3 separate regions of the Homo sapiens genome follow, and all the other regions are linked to region 3. The links are contacts of gene promoters, found by promoter capture Hi-C in human tissues and cell types (Jung and others, 2019). All regions are on one chromosome and are shown on one strand. The core of a region is centred on a gene start or on the middle of the fragment in contact, and the rest is flanking DNA. Distances in the headings are between cores, read along the strand shown.

What was found. The method cuts DNA at HindIII sites, captures the fragments that hold promoters and counts their contacts. A contact is called where the count stands out against the background at its distance.
Region 1: a contact is called between a fragment that was not itself captured here and the fragment with the promoter of PABPN1 in region 3, in 1 of the 25 tissues and cell types used here (thymus).
Region 2: a fragment that was not itself captured here is called in contact with the fragment with the promoter of PABPN1 in region 3 in 1 of the 25 tissues and cell types used here (H1 embryonic stem cells).

The regions. Positions count from the first base shown.
Region 1 is chr14:22,983,593-22,987,994 of GRCh38, reverse strand. It overlaps C14orf93 (chromosome 14 open reading frame 93), which reads left to right. Exons shown (of 7, transcript NM_021944.4): 6 at 1-92; 7 at 361-2,101. The coding sequence ends at 780. It overlaps AJUBA-DT (AJUBA divergent transcript), which reads right to left and starts at 3,671. Exons shown (of 3, transcript XR_007064074.1): 1 at 3,175-3,671. RefSeq lists a silencer at 1,155-1,264. The HindIII fragment of the contact is 3,415 bases long and covers 492-3,906 here.
Region 2 is chr14:22,905,345-22,909,578 of GRCh38, reverse strand. It overlaps RBM23 (RNA binding motif protein 23), which reads left to right. Exons shown (of 14, transcript NM_001077351.2): 3 at 1-96; 4 at 1,199-1,246; 5 at 3,211-3,384; 6 at 3,920-3,973; 7 at 4,126-4,234. Among named protein-coding and RNA genes, the nearest start is that of RBM23, 12 kb to the left of the region's middle. The HindIII fragment of the contact is 8,113 bases long and covers 1-4,234 here.
Region 3 is chr14:23,319,994-23,324,152 of GRCh38, reverse strand. PABPN1 (poly(A) binding protein nuclear 1) reads right to left here and starts at 2,696. Exons shown (of 7, transcript NM_004643.4): 1 at 2,333-2,696; 2 at 1,858-1,972; 3 at 1,087-1,154; 4 at 670-776; 5 at 101-188; 6 at 1-15. The coding sequence starts at 2,683. It overlaps BCL2L2-PABPN1 (BCL2L2-PABPN1 readthrough), which reads right to left. Exons shown (of 8, transcript NM_001387346.1): 4 at 1,858-1,972; 5 at 1,087-1,154; 6 at 670-776; 7 at 101-188; 8 at 1-15. RefSeq lists enhancers at 1,322-2,131, 2,132-2,943, 3,197-3,266, 2,955-3,605 and silencers at 2,237-2,306, 2,367-2,796. The HindIII fragment of the contact is 10,317 bases long and covers 1-4,159 here.

The sequences.
Region 1 (4,402 bases), core at 950-3,449, 340 kb after region 3:
TTACTAAGAGGCGTGAGTACCGCAACTCCCTGAACCCCTTTAAAGGCCTGAAGGAAAAAGAGGAGAAGAAACTTCGAAGTCGCCGATATCGGGTAGGTTTCTAGGCCTTTCTTTCAAGATACTAAACTCTAAACCCTTTCCTAAGTGGGAAGGGCCAGAGGACATGGCATATGAGAATAGGGTTGAGAGCCAGGAATGTAGGAAGATAGAGAAGAACAGTGAGCCAATGCTAAGATCTGACTTGGGGACTGGGTTCACTTAGGCACAGATTTTACACAGCCTTCCCCACCAAACCTTTTCCCCAAATCTAATCCATAGAATGTTTACCTTCCTAATCTATCTCCTGGGTTCCTGCCTTAGCTTTTTGCCAACCGATCCAGTATCATGAGGCATTTTGGACCTGAGGACCAACGTCTGTGGAATGATGTGACAGAGGAACTGATGTCAGATGAAGAGGACAGTCTTAACGAGCCAGGTGTGTGGGTGGCCCGCCCTCCCCGTTTCCGGGCCCAGCGCCTCACAGAGCTCTGCTACCACCTGGATGCTAACTCTAAGCATGGCACCAAAGCCAACCGTGTGTATGGGCCTCCCTCAGACAGACTGCCTTCTGCTGAAGCCCAGCTCCTTCCACCAGAACTTTACAATCCTAATTTCCAAGAAGAGGAAGATGAGGGAGGGGATGAGAATGCACCTGGCTCCCCATCTTTTGACCAACCCCACAAAACCTGCTGTCCTGACTTGAACTCATTCATTGAAATCAAGGTGGAAAAGGATGAATAAAATCTACAGCCAAGAATAACTCTGGCTTCCGCCATGCCCCATGTCTCAGAAATAGGTGGCCATGGGGCTTCACAAAATAATGAGATGCTCTGTGCAGTCTGAGAAAGCAAATTTGCCTCTTTTCTTAACACAGTCTCTACTGGGGAAGCAGAACACTGGTGGGATAAAAACTTATCTAGAAGGGGAGAAACTCCCTCCACTGTGAACAGTAAGCCAGAATATGCTTATTCCTCAGCATAAACAGTATCTCGGAGAAGCCTGGGATGAGAAAATGAGGAGGATGGGTCCAAGAAACATGAGGCCTTCTTGACATATGCCCTGTCTCTGAGTTGTTTCTGCCCCTGCCCAGTTCCACCCAAAGCTCTGAGGAAGCAGCCCAGGTTGTACCTTTTGCTTCCCTGTGACTACTTGTCTTGCTCTGCAGTGGAAACCGAACATGACCAGTGCAGGTTAATACCGCCACCTGGTGGGCAGTTTCAGTCATGAGCTTGAGTCTTCTGACCAAGGGAACACAAGTTCTATCACTATTGGGGAATTGGGTTCCTGATATAATAGCTATTGTTTATTGAATTACATGAGGAAAATTTTACTATTCCTATCTTACAGATGAGGAAATTAAGGCTTAAAGAGTTCCCGTGTCTCACCGGCAGCCTCTCTCTCACTATGTGACCAAGCAAAATACACAGCTTTGTAGCTGTTTCTTGGTCCTGTCAGCCAAGCTGTATTTTGAGGAAGGGGTGTGCATTTTGGATGGATTGAAAAGCAAAAATGGCTTTACATTTATTCAGTCTTATAACAAACATTGATCGCTTTACTAGGTGTCAGGTACTGTGCTATGGATACATTGTTGATAAGGTTGGATGCTGTTCAGAGATTTTTTTAGTTTAGTCAGGAAGCCAGGCAGTGGAGTAGGCAATGAAATGAACTGTGATAAGGGTGACCATGGTGGAGTGTAGTGCACTATGGCAATATACAGCAGGGGTAGCTAACCTACTCTTGCAGTCTGGAAAGGCTTCTTCTGAGAGGGTGTAATGTCTAAACTGGGGAAGAGTTAACCAGAAGGAAAGGGGAGGCTAAGAGAGTGTTCCAAACAGGGAACTGCAGGTACAAAAGTCCAGGGGCAAGAGAGAGTACAGACAAGGTCCAGTTCTACTGCAGACTTTTGGGGAAGGGATAATGCTAGAGGAGAGGCTGGAGAGTGAGACAGACCTCATAATACAGAGTACAGACTTCAACCCAAGGGCAGTGAGAAATCATTGAAAGTTTGTTTTAGCAGGGAAATAAAACGACAGGTTTTGCCTACAGGCAGTCCCCAACTCAACGATGGTTCGACTTAGGATTTTTCAACTTTACGATGGTGCGAAATGATTCAGTATGCTCCTCACCTTATGATGCAGTTATATCAGATAAACCCATTTTAAGCTGAAAATATGGTGAAGTTGAAGAAGCACTTCTGCCTTACGATATTTTCAATTTATAATGGATGGGTTTATTCAGACATAACTCCATTGTAAGTCGTAAAGCTTCTGTACTGAAAAAAATCACTTGACCTCAGGGTATAAGATGGATTGCAGGGAGCAAGCCTTGGCCAGGAGACTTTTGCATTGGTTTCGGAGAGGAAAGACGGTGACTTGACATATATAGTGGTGATGAGGGGAGGACAGATTTGGAAGATGTTTAGGAAGCAGAATTAATAGAACTTGGTGATTGATAGGACTTGGTTGGATTTGAGGTTAAGGGAGAAGGAGGACATAGGGTTGACGCTCAGATTTCTAGTTTAAGCAGCTAACAGGATTGTGCCATTTACTCAGAGAATGTTAGAGGAGCCAGTTTCATGAGGCAGAGAAGATGAGATCAGTTTAGGATATTGGGTGCTTCTGAGACAGCCATTGGAGATGCTAGTAGTTAGTTGAGTTTTTAATTCCAAGAAAGACTGGGCTGGAAATATGGATTAGGGAGTCACCTGCATATACAGATTATAATTAAAGTCTTGGGAACGAAGAGGGCCTTTGGAGATCCCAGCTCCAGTTTAGACTGTGGAGAGGCCACCTGAGGTCATGAGCACTATTGGAGCATGCCCTATTAGCATATGCGTCTTCTACTTCTTCCCCTTCACTCATCTCTGCTTCCAGTTATCCCTTGAAAACACAGGCTGTTCATCCCAGTTGTGCCCATTGCTACCACCAACTCTTGCATGGGCCTCCTTTAATGGCCTCCCAACATTTCATAAGATTTCCTCTCGCATCCTCACCCCAAAGGATCAAAGCTTCCAAATATTAGTAGTTGTGTGGATATTTTGGATGTAATTGGAAGGAAGAATCAAAGTTCTCCTTCCTCATCTGGACACAGGAAAGGAGGGAACACATTATGGTTAATTCTGAAGATGTTGCTCACAGCAGGTTCTAGATGCAATCCGATAGCTCCCCTCTGTTCCTAGTGCTTTCAGTCCTCCCTGCTTCCACTCTGGTAGGAAACTCTCCTCAGGATCAGAGAAAAGCCGTGGCCTTGACCAGGGAAACAGAGGCTGATTCTCAGGGGAGATGAGGTCAGGGAGACAATGCAACTAGGACGAAGAAGCCAAATAGTTTGGCACAAATTAATTTCCCAAAAGATATTAACCTCGTTTCTTTCCACATTCCCTAAGGCTACACTAAGATTATAAAAGGTGTTCAAAATGTTGAGATGAAAATAATATGCATGACTTGTTTGCATATAATTTTCATACTCATTTACTATCTAAATACAAAGGAGTCATTTTCCTTCTCCATTCTACTTCCTCCACCCCTTGCCCCTGATGTTTTAGTCTGGGCAAAAGTAGTTGGCTGGTTTTTAAAAAATTTTTTTGAGACGGAATCTCCCTCTATCGCCCAGGCCTGAGTGCAATGGCACAATCTCGGCTCTCTGCAACCTCCGCCTCCTGGGTTCACGCGATTCTTCTGCCTCAGCCTCCCAAGTAGCTGGGACTACAGGTGCACGCCACCACACCGGCTAATTTTTGTATTCTTAGTAGAGACGGGGTTTCACCATACTGGCCAGGCTGGTTGCAAACTCCTGACCTCGTGATCCCGCCGCCTCTGCCTTCCAAAGTGCTGGGATTACAGGCGTGAGCCACCGCTCCCGGCCGTTGGCTGGTATTTAATTAGGTATGTTTAGCTTCATCTAGGGTTTCTTTAAAAAAAATTATTATTTATTTTTGAGAATTTTTTTGAGACGGAGTCTTGCTCTGTCGCCCAGGCTGGAGTGCAGTGGCCGTGATATTGGCTCACTGCAACCTCTGTCTCCCGGGTTCAAGCGATTCTCCCGCCTCAGCCTCTCGAGTGGCTGGGACTATAGGCGTGCGCCACCACGCCTGGCTAATTTTTGTATTTTTAGTAGAGATAGGGCTTCACCATGTTGGCCAGGCTGGTCTGAACTCTTGACTTCAAGTGATCCGCCCGCCTCAGCCTCCCAAAGTGGTGGGATTACAGGCGTGAGCCACCGCGCCCGGCTGCTTCAGCCAGGGTTTCTTTTCCTTATTCTTGATCCTTTTAAAATAGTCAATATCAGCCTCTTTTCCATCCTGATCATTTTCATTTGCAATTTCCTCTACACGGCATTTCTTTTCTTCCTCTTAATACTTACT
Region 2 (4,234 bases), core at 565-3,064, 410 kb after region 3:
AGAAGTTAAAAAGGATTATCCTAGCAATACCACCAGCAGCACCAGCAACAGTGGCAATGAGACCAGTGGAAGCAGCACCATCGGGGAGACAAGCAAGTGAGTGTGGGAGGAAGAAATGGGTTGGCAACTTGGGGAAGGGAAACAGTTTTGTCCATTGGAAAAATAACCAGAATAGGGAGATTGTTTCTGTTAAGACTGCTGACTGTTAGTAATGGCTCCACCTAGGTCATGAGAATAATGGTGACTTGATTTAATTATCTAGTCTTCATTTTCCAGTGTAGATTTGTGGATTAGTCCTAGCATCAATATACTTCATTTGAATAAAATACCAAGAGGGGCTGGGCGTGGTGGCTCACACCTGTAATCCCAGCACTTTGGGAGGCCGAGGTGGGTGGATCACCTGAGGTCAGGAGTTCGAGACCAGATTGACCAACATGGTGAAACCCCGTCTCTACTAAAAATACAAAAATTAGCTGGGCGCGGTGGCAGGCTCCTGTAATCCCAGCTACTCAGGAGGCTGAGGCAGGAGAATTGCTTGAACATGGGAGGCAGAGGTTGTAGTGAGCCGAGGTCGCACCATCGCACTCCAGCCTGGGAAACAGAGTGAGACTCTGTCTCAAAAAAAAAAAAAATAGCAAGAGGACCCCTGATTTGGAAACACCAGGTTTTGCTTCGCATTAGGGGGAAAAATGGCCTCTTCAGATGCCTGACAGCTTTCAGGGCTGTAAGTTGGTATTGTGCAATTGCTGTGAACCACTGCTGGATCATCTTCGGGTCTTTGGTTTTTTCATGCTTTCTGTTTCATTCTGGCCTTACTGTAATTCCTTTTCTTTGGCAGCAATAACGAAACCTTCTCTTTAAGAATTTACACTCCTGACCTGGCGCGGTGCTCACGCGGGGCTCATGCATGTAATCCCAGCACTTTGGGAGGCTGAGGCAGGTGGATCACTTGAGGCCAGGGGTTCAAGATGAACCTGGCCAACATAGCGAAACCTTGTCTCTACTAAAAATATAAAAAATTAGCTGGGCATGATGGTACATGCCTGTAATCCCAGCTACTCAGGAGGCTAAGGCATGAGGATCGCTTGAACCTGGAAGGCGGAGGTTGCAGTGAGCCAAGATTGCACCACTGCACGACAGAGCGAGATTCTTTCTCAAAATTAAAAAAAAAAAAAGAAGAATGTACTCTCTTTCACAGGAAGAAGAGGAGTCGGAGCCATAATAAAAGCAGGGATAGAAAGCGCAGGTCAGTAATTCTGGGCCAGGCACAGTGGCTCGTATCTTTAATCCTAGCACTTTGGAAGCCAAGGCGGGAGGATCACTTCAGGCCAGGAGTTCAAAACCAGCCTGGGCAACATAGCAAAATCCTGTCTCTACAAAAAATTTAAAAATTACCCAGGTGTAGTAGTACATGTTTGTACTCCCAGCTACTTGGGAGGCTAAGGCTGGAGGATTGCTTGGGCCCAGGAGTTCGAGGTTGCAGTGAGCCGAGATTGCAGCACTAAACTCCTGCCTGGGCAACAGATGGAGAACCTGTCTCAAAAAAAATAAAAATAAAAATAAAAAATTGAAACATTTAGCTTAAAACACAAACACATTGTACAACTCTACAAGTTTTCTTTATGTCCTTATTCTATAAGCTTTTTTCTATTTTTAAATTTTTTTGTCTTTTACTTTTTAAACATTATTGTTATTGTTGAAAACTACGACACAAAGACACATGAGCCTAGGCCTGCAGAGGGTCTTTCACCTCCACATCTTGTCCCACTGGAAGGTCTTCAAGGGCATTAATACACATAGAGTTGTACTCTGCTGTAACAGTGCTTTCTTTAGGAGCACCTTCTGAAGGACCAGCCTAAGGCTGTTTTATAGTTAACCGAAGTAGAAGTAATATATTCTAGAATGATAAATATAGTAAATACATGAATCAGTGACATCATTACTTTTTATCGTGAAGTATATACTGTACGTAATTGTTTTATTTTTAAACAATTTTTAATTGATACATATTGTATGTAGTTTCTGGTATGTGTGAAATTTAATACATATAATTTGTAAAGATCAAATCAGTGTACTTGAGTTATCCTTGACCTAAATGTTTATCTTTTCATGATGCTAGGAAACATTCAAATTATTCTCTACTAGCTATTTTGAAATGTATAATAGATTATTGTACACTGTAGTAATAACCCTACTGATTTGTTGAACACTGGGTCTTATTTTTTCTTTTTTTTTTGAGACCGAGTTTCGCTTTTGTTGCCCAGGCTGGAATGCAATGGCGTGATCTTGGCTCACCGCAACCTCTGCCTCCCAGGTTCAAGTGATTCTCCTGCCTCAGCCTCCTGAATAGCTGGGATTACAGGCGTGTGCCACCATGCCTGGCTAATTTTTTTGGTTTGTTTTTTGAGACAGAGTCTCACTCTGTTGCCCAGGATGGAGTGCAGTGGCGCGACGTCGGCTCACTGCAACCTCCGCCTCCCAGGTTTAAGAAGTTCTCCTGCCTCAGCCTCCTGAGTAGCTGGGATTACAGTTGCGCACCACCACACCTGGCTAATTTTTGTATTTCTGGTAGAGATGGGGTTTCACCATGTTGGCCAGACTGGTCTGGAATTCCTGATCTCAAGTGATCCACCCATTTTGGTCTCCCAAAGTGCTGGGATTACAGGCGTGAGCCACCGTGCCTGGTCTAATTTTGTGTTTTTAGTAGAGACGGAGTTTCTCCATGTTGGTCAGGCTGGTCTCGAACTCTCGACCTCAGGTGATCTGCCCGCCTTGGCCTCCCAAAGTGCTGGGATTACAGGCGTGAGCCACCGCGCCCAGCCCTGGGTCTTATTTTTTCTATTAAATGACATATTTGTATCCATTCATCTACTTCTGTTCATTCCACCCACAGCCGCCATCCTTCCATCCTTCCATCCTTCCCAGCCTCTAGTAAACACTAGTCTTTCTATCTTCATGAGATTCACTTTGTACATAATTGGATGTGCTGTATTTTTATACAACTGGGAGTGCAGTAGGTAATAGTTTGGTTTACACCAGTATCACCACAAACACATAAGTAATACATTACGACATTACAGTGGCTGTAACATCACTAGGTTATACGAACTTCTCAGCACCGTTATAATCTTATGGGACCACTGTTGTATATGCACTTGGTTGTTGGCCTAAACATGATGTGGGCATGACTGTAGTTGTTTCCCTCTGTAGTCGTAGTCGAGATCGGGATCGGTATAGACGGAGAAATAGTCGGAGCCGAAGTCCAGGTCGGCAGTGTCGTCACCGTAGCCGTAGCTGGGATCGTCGACATGGTAGTGAGTCGCGAAGTCGGGACCATCGTCGTGAGGATCGTGTGCATTACAGGAGTCCTCCACTTGCCACTGGGTATCACTTTTTGCTAATAGATTCACTTTTGTATAATAATCTGGATAAAACAACAAATGCACTATGAACCCTGCTTGAGGGTGCTTATTATAACACATTGTGATTGGCAGGATACTCAGGCACAGAAAGGGTTGGTATTCAAAATTTACTGGTGTGGTGGCTCATGCCTGTAATCCCAGCACTTTGGGAGACTGAGGCCAGAAGATCACTTGGGCTCAGGAATTCAAGACCAGCCAGGACAACATGGCGAAACCCTGGTTCTACAAAAAATGCAAAAATGAGCTAGATATGGTCATGTGTGTCTGTAATCCTAGCCACACAAGGAGGCTGAGGTGGGAGGATTGCTTGAGCCTGGGAGGCAAAGGTTGCAGTGACCCGAGATGGCGCCACTGCACTCCAGCCTGGGTGACAGCGGAAACCCTGTCTTAAAAAAACAATGAGATGAAGTACTGGAATCTGGTTTTCTCACCATGGAAGACCCAGCATTGGACCAATGAGAATAAGGTTTCACCTTTTGTTTTTCTCTATTCTTTAGTTATAGGTATGGACACAGTAAGAGTCCTCATTTCAGAGAGAAGAGCCCAGTCAGGTGGGTTGATAATGAACACTGTTTTAGGGATTGTGAGGTATGAATAAAAGGTTATTTGAGCCAAATTACAGGAATGTGTAATACTTGAGGGTTAGCTGGAGAACAATGACCAGGTATTGGGAGGGCTGGTCTCAACACATTTCACTCTTCAGGGAGCCAGTTGATAATCTGAGTCCTGAGGAGCGTGATGCCCGCACAGTTTTCTGTATGCAGTTAGCTGCCCGAATTCGGCCTCGAGATCTGGAGGACTTTTTCTCTGCT
Region 3 (4,159 bases), core at 1,447-3,946:
TCGTTTTGGGATCACCTGAGTCAGAGATGAACAAATGATAGCCTTAAAGGCAACCTGGAGAGTTTATACACAACTAGAACAGCAATGGACATAGGCTTACCTTGATTTGCCTTCCTCTAAATAGGGACTCATCTAAGGCCAAGGAAGTCCTCACTGACTCTTTGTCTGAGAACTCTATATACGCAAACCTGAAAAGAATTGTCATTGTATCTCTCTGAGGTTACAAATACCTCACAGGTCAAATTCAACCTGCAGGCATGCTTCGTTTTGGGCTACAATGCAGTTATATTTTTTATTTGTCAAAATTCTTCTAAATGGAAAATTTCAATCATTCGAAATCATTTAAATTTTAAAATTTCCAGCTACTCTTTGAAATTTGTAAAAATAAGACACACAGGGCCTGAATTTCCATATGGCCATAATAGGCCAAGTAGAAGCTGCCCCTCCCCTTCTAGTTCGTAATCCCACCCACATCTAGCCTTCATTTTTGTTATCTGGCCTCTGAAGACATTTAGGTGCAACTCCTGATATATCAACATTAATGCCATGATCTTAAATGACACAGATCACCTGTGTTAACACCAAATAACTTACTGCTCAATATAAAACATAATTTATCTATTTGTACACTGTAATTTAAATTATCTCAACTTACTCCCCTTTACTTACCCTTTGGGATGGCCACTAAATTTGTCACACAGTATGGTAACACGGTTGACTGAACCACAGCCATGAAAGTGAGCTTCCAGCTCTTCTGCTGTTGCACCATAGTCCACCTGATGAGAGGAGAAAAATTTCACAGGCACCAGGCAAATTCCTGTCTCAAAAGGAACCCTCCCGAGCCTTTGGTCTGGGCCATCATACACCAAAGCACATGAAATCTGGTAATTTGAGGAATTAATCTCTTTTCCTTCCAAACCCAGAGCCTTTGCTGATTACTGATCATTCCATTACCTTTAACCTCCTTCCCACACTCCCTCCACACCCAAAACCACATCTATCCCGGAGATGTTCCTTTCAGGACTATTAAATAATTCCCCAAAAGAAGAACTTGCCCCCAACCCCAGTCAGAGCCCCAGTACGTACATTGCCAACATAGATGGAACGGGCATCAGCCTCCATCTTCTCCTCAATGGACATGATCACCGGGCCAGCTATCAGGAAAAAATAATTTTTTACAAAAACCACACACTTGTTTTCTACTTGACCAATATGTTGCACTTCCACCACCAGCACTATCCCATAAGCTCAGTGAAGGCAAAGATTTTGGTCTGTGCTGTTCCCTGCTGTACCCACAACCGAGAATAGTGCCTAGTGCATAGCAGGTACTCACTAAATATTCAATAAATTGAAAGAATTAATACACACTTAAAACAGTATAGGAATCCCTCCTGCCTCCAAATCAAATCCCTAATGAATGGCTTTGGTTGAAATGCTTTTAAGAGTGAGCAAAATTAAGTGGGCTGAGACTCCACATTTCTAGATTAAAGGGGAAACCCCTTGCAGCTTGCTTTCTCTTAGAATCCTAAAGCGTCTCCAATTGGAGGAAAAACTATTAGATTTGAAGGTCAAATGCGAGCACGCAACCTCTACAAAGAAAGATAGACGTAGACTAAGAACAAAGAGCAACACAATTATAACAGGCACAAAGGGAGGCACAAGGCTACCACCACCAAAATATACGTTCTGCCTCACAAAGGTCAGAGGAACACACAACGGACTATGACCGCGGCACAGTCATAATAGCTCAGACAAGCAGCTCCAGGGTGCCGAGTATCTAACCCCACATTCCCCATCCTCCCCACAACCCTTCCAACCCGAGAACCCGGGCTCCGCGTGCAACCGCCAGTTACTCACCATTGCCTGGAGGTGGACTCATATTCATCTGCTTCTCTACCTCGTTCTGTAGCTCCTTTAGCTTCTCAGCTTCTTCCTCCATCTCCCTGACTCGAGCTTTGATAGCTTCCAGCTCCTAATATAAGTGGGGAGGGTATGGAGGACAGCTTAAGAGGAACCAACGCAGGGGCTGTGCCCTGCTCTCGGCCAGAGCGCGGCCTCAGCCATGCTCGGCCATTTCCCTCGCCCCATGCGAGGGTCGTGATAAAAGAAAAGCTACCCTCTCTAGAACAACACTAGGCAACCGTGACGCCCGAATCAAGCCAGTCGGGCCCCTTGTAGTGATCGCTGACCCATCCCCGGCCCGACCCGGCCCCAGCCACGTTATTCCCCGCCCAACCCCACCCCCCGCCTGCCACCCGCTCGCCCGAGCTCTGGGCCTCCAGTGACCCGGCCGGCCAGCCGCCGGCCTGCTCGCTCGCCCTCCTTCCCTCACCGGGTCCTCAATGGCGCCGTCCCCCGGGTCACCCTCGACCAGTCCCGGCTCCTCCTCCTCCTCTTGGCTGCCGGGGGCTCCCGAACCAGGCCCAGGGCCCGGAGCTCCCGGGGGGGCGCGGGGCCGGGGCGGCTCCTCTTCGGGCTCGGGCTCCGGCTCGGGCTCCAGCAGCAGCTCCTCAGGCTCCAGTTCCTCAGACTCCAGGCCGTTCCCGTAGTCCCCTGCGCCCCCCGGGGCCCCCTCCCCGGCCTCCCCACCGGCCCCGGGCACAAGATGGCGCCGCCGCCCCGGCCCGGAGCCCCGACCGCCCGCAGCCCCCGCTGCTGCTGCCGCCGCCGCCGCCGCCGCCATCGCCGCTCAGACTGGGGCCCGCCGCCCGGCGATTGGAGAGCTGCGCCGGCCACGCCGAGGACTCATTAGTCAAGCTGCCTGCCCGTCACCATGAGCTAGTACTCCATTGGGGAATATTACTTGGCAATCAAATAAGGCCCCACCTCTAAGGCGGGGCACTGCGCCAAATTCTCAAATCCCGGTAGGGGAAATCTGCCTGTCAATCAACACGCGTCCCACCTCCTATCGAGTCCTTAGGTAATAATACCGCCACGCTGTGACGATATTCCTGCTTCTCCCCGGCCTACGGGCGGGCCCGCGAAGTATGGGACGCTCCGTGATTGGCCCTAGCTAGGCGACTGGAAAGGACCAATCTTCCGATCGCCTCACCGCAGTGGCCCAGTCTCAGATGCCGATTGGCTTGCGAGAGTCGAAGGGGTGACACTCGTTTCGTGACAGGTGAACCTTGCCCCCGAAAGGACTGCCGGGCTTCAAACTTGGGAAACCCGAGGTCACATGACTAGCCAGTCCTAGGGGGCCGCCATCTTGATACTACTGCTTGCCAGCTAGTGAGCTGTTGGCCGGGTGAGGCCCAAAACAGAGCAGCAGTTTCAGGAAACTTGTATCTCGACCAGGAAGCACCAGTAGATGGGATGTTGCTGAAAATGGAGGTTGTGAATGAAGCATTCCAGGAGGGAGCTTACTTTCCCCATCCAGGTTATTGGCACCATCATCCACTAGCTCTCCCGCACCAGAAAGCAGGGAGGATTCCTCAGTCCAGAGCTACTAGTCACAAGTCCTGTCTGTCCCGCCCTCTTGCGTAGGCCTTCTGCTCCCCAGTTCCATTTTCTTTTTCCTGGACAGCTTCCAATGTCACCCCTCCAATCTGCACCGCTAACAGACTGGCCCCCCTTTGCTGGCGAGGTAAAGTCTCAAAACCGTAAATCACGGCCTTCGATACGCCAGCATGTGGTTACTTTGTGGATGTTGTTTCCTTCCACTCTTCTCGTTCCTTTGGGTGTACCTGCACCCAGTCTGTGCCTCTAACATGTAGTCCCCCTTCAATCAAACCACTGCAAACCCCAGCTTCCCCTCATTTCCCAGGACAAGTGGGCCTATCTCCACGGCGCGCTTAATTGTTTTACTGTTTCCTAACTAGGTTGTGAGCGCCTGCAGATGAGGGGCCGGTTCCTATTTATATTCGCATCTCCACGGCCTGGCAATATGCCTACCACATAATGTCCTGTTAGATGTTTGTTGATTGAACAGGCATTGATTGGGGATTTGGGTGCCACCCTTCATTTAAGCCCTCAAGCCCCCAAGATCCCAGAGGAATTTCTCCTGGCAGGTTCCCACTACACCCCTGCACCCCAAGTACCAATGAGACCTAGCCCTGGAAGGCAGGACTGCCATATTTTGGTAGCAGTCCTACACATTTATTAAAAAGAAAGGAATGGCAGTGTACGTTTGCAAGAGAAATTTTTGTGGGCACACTAA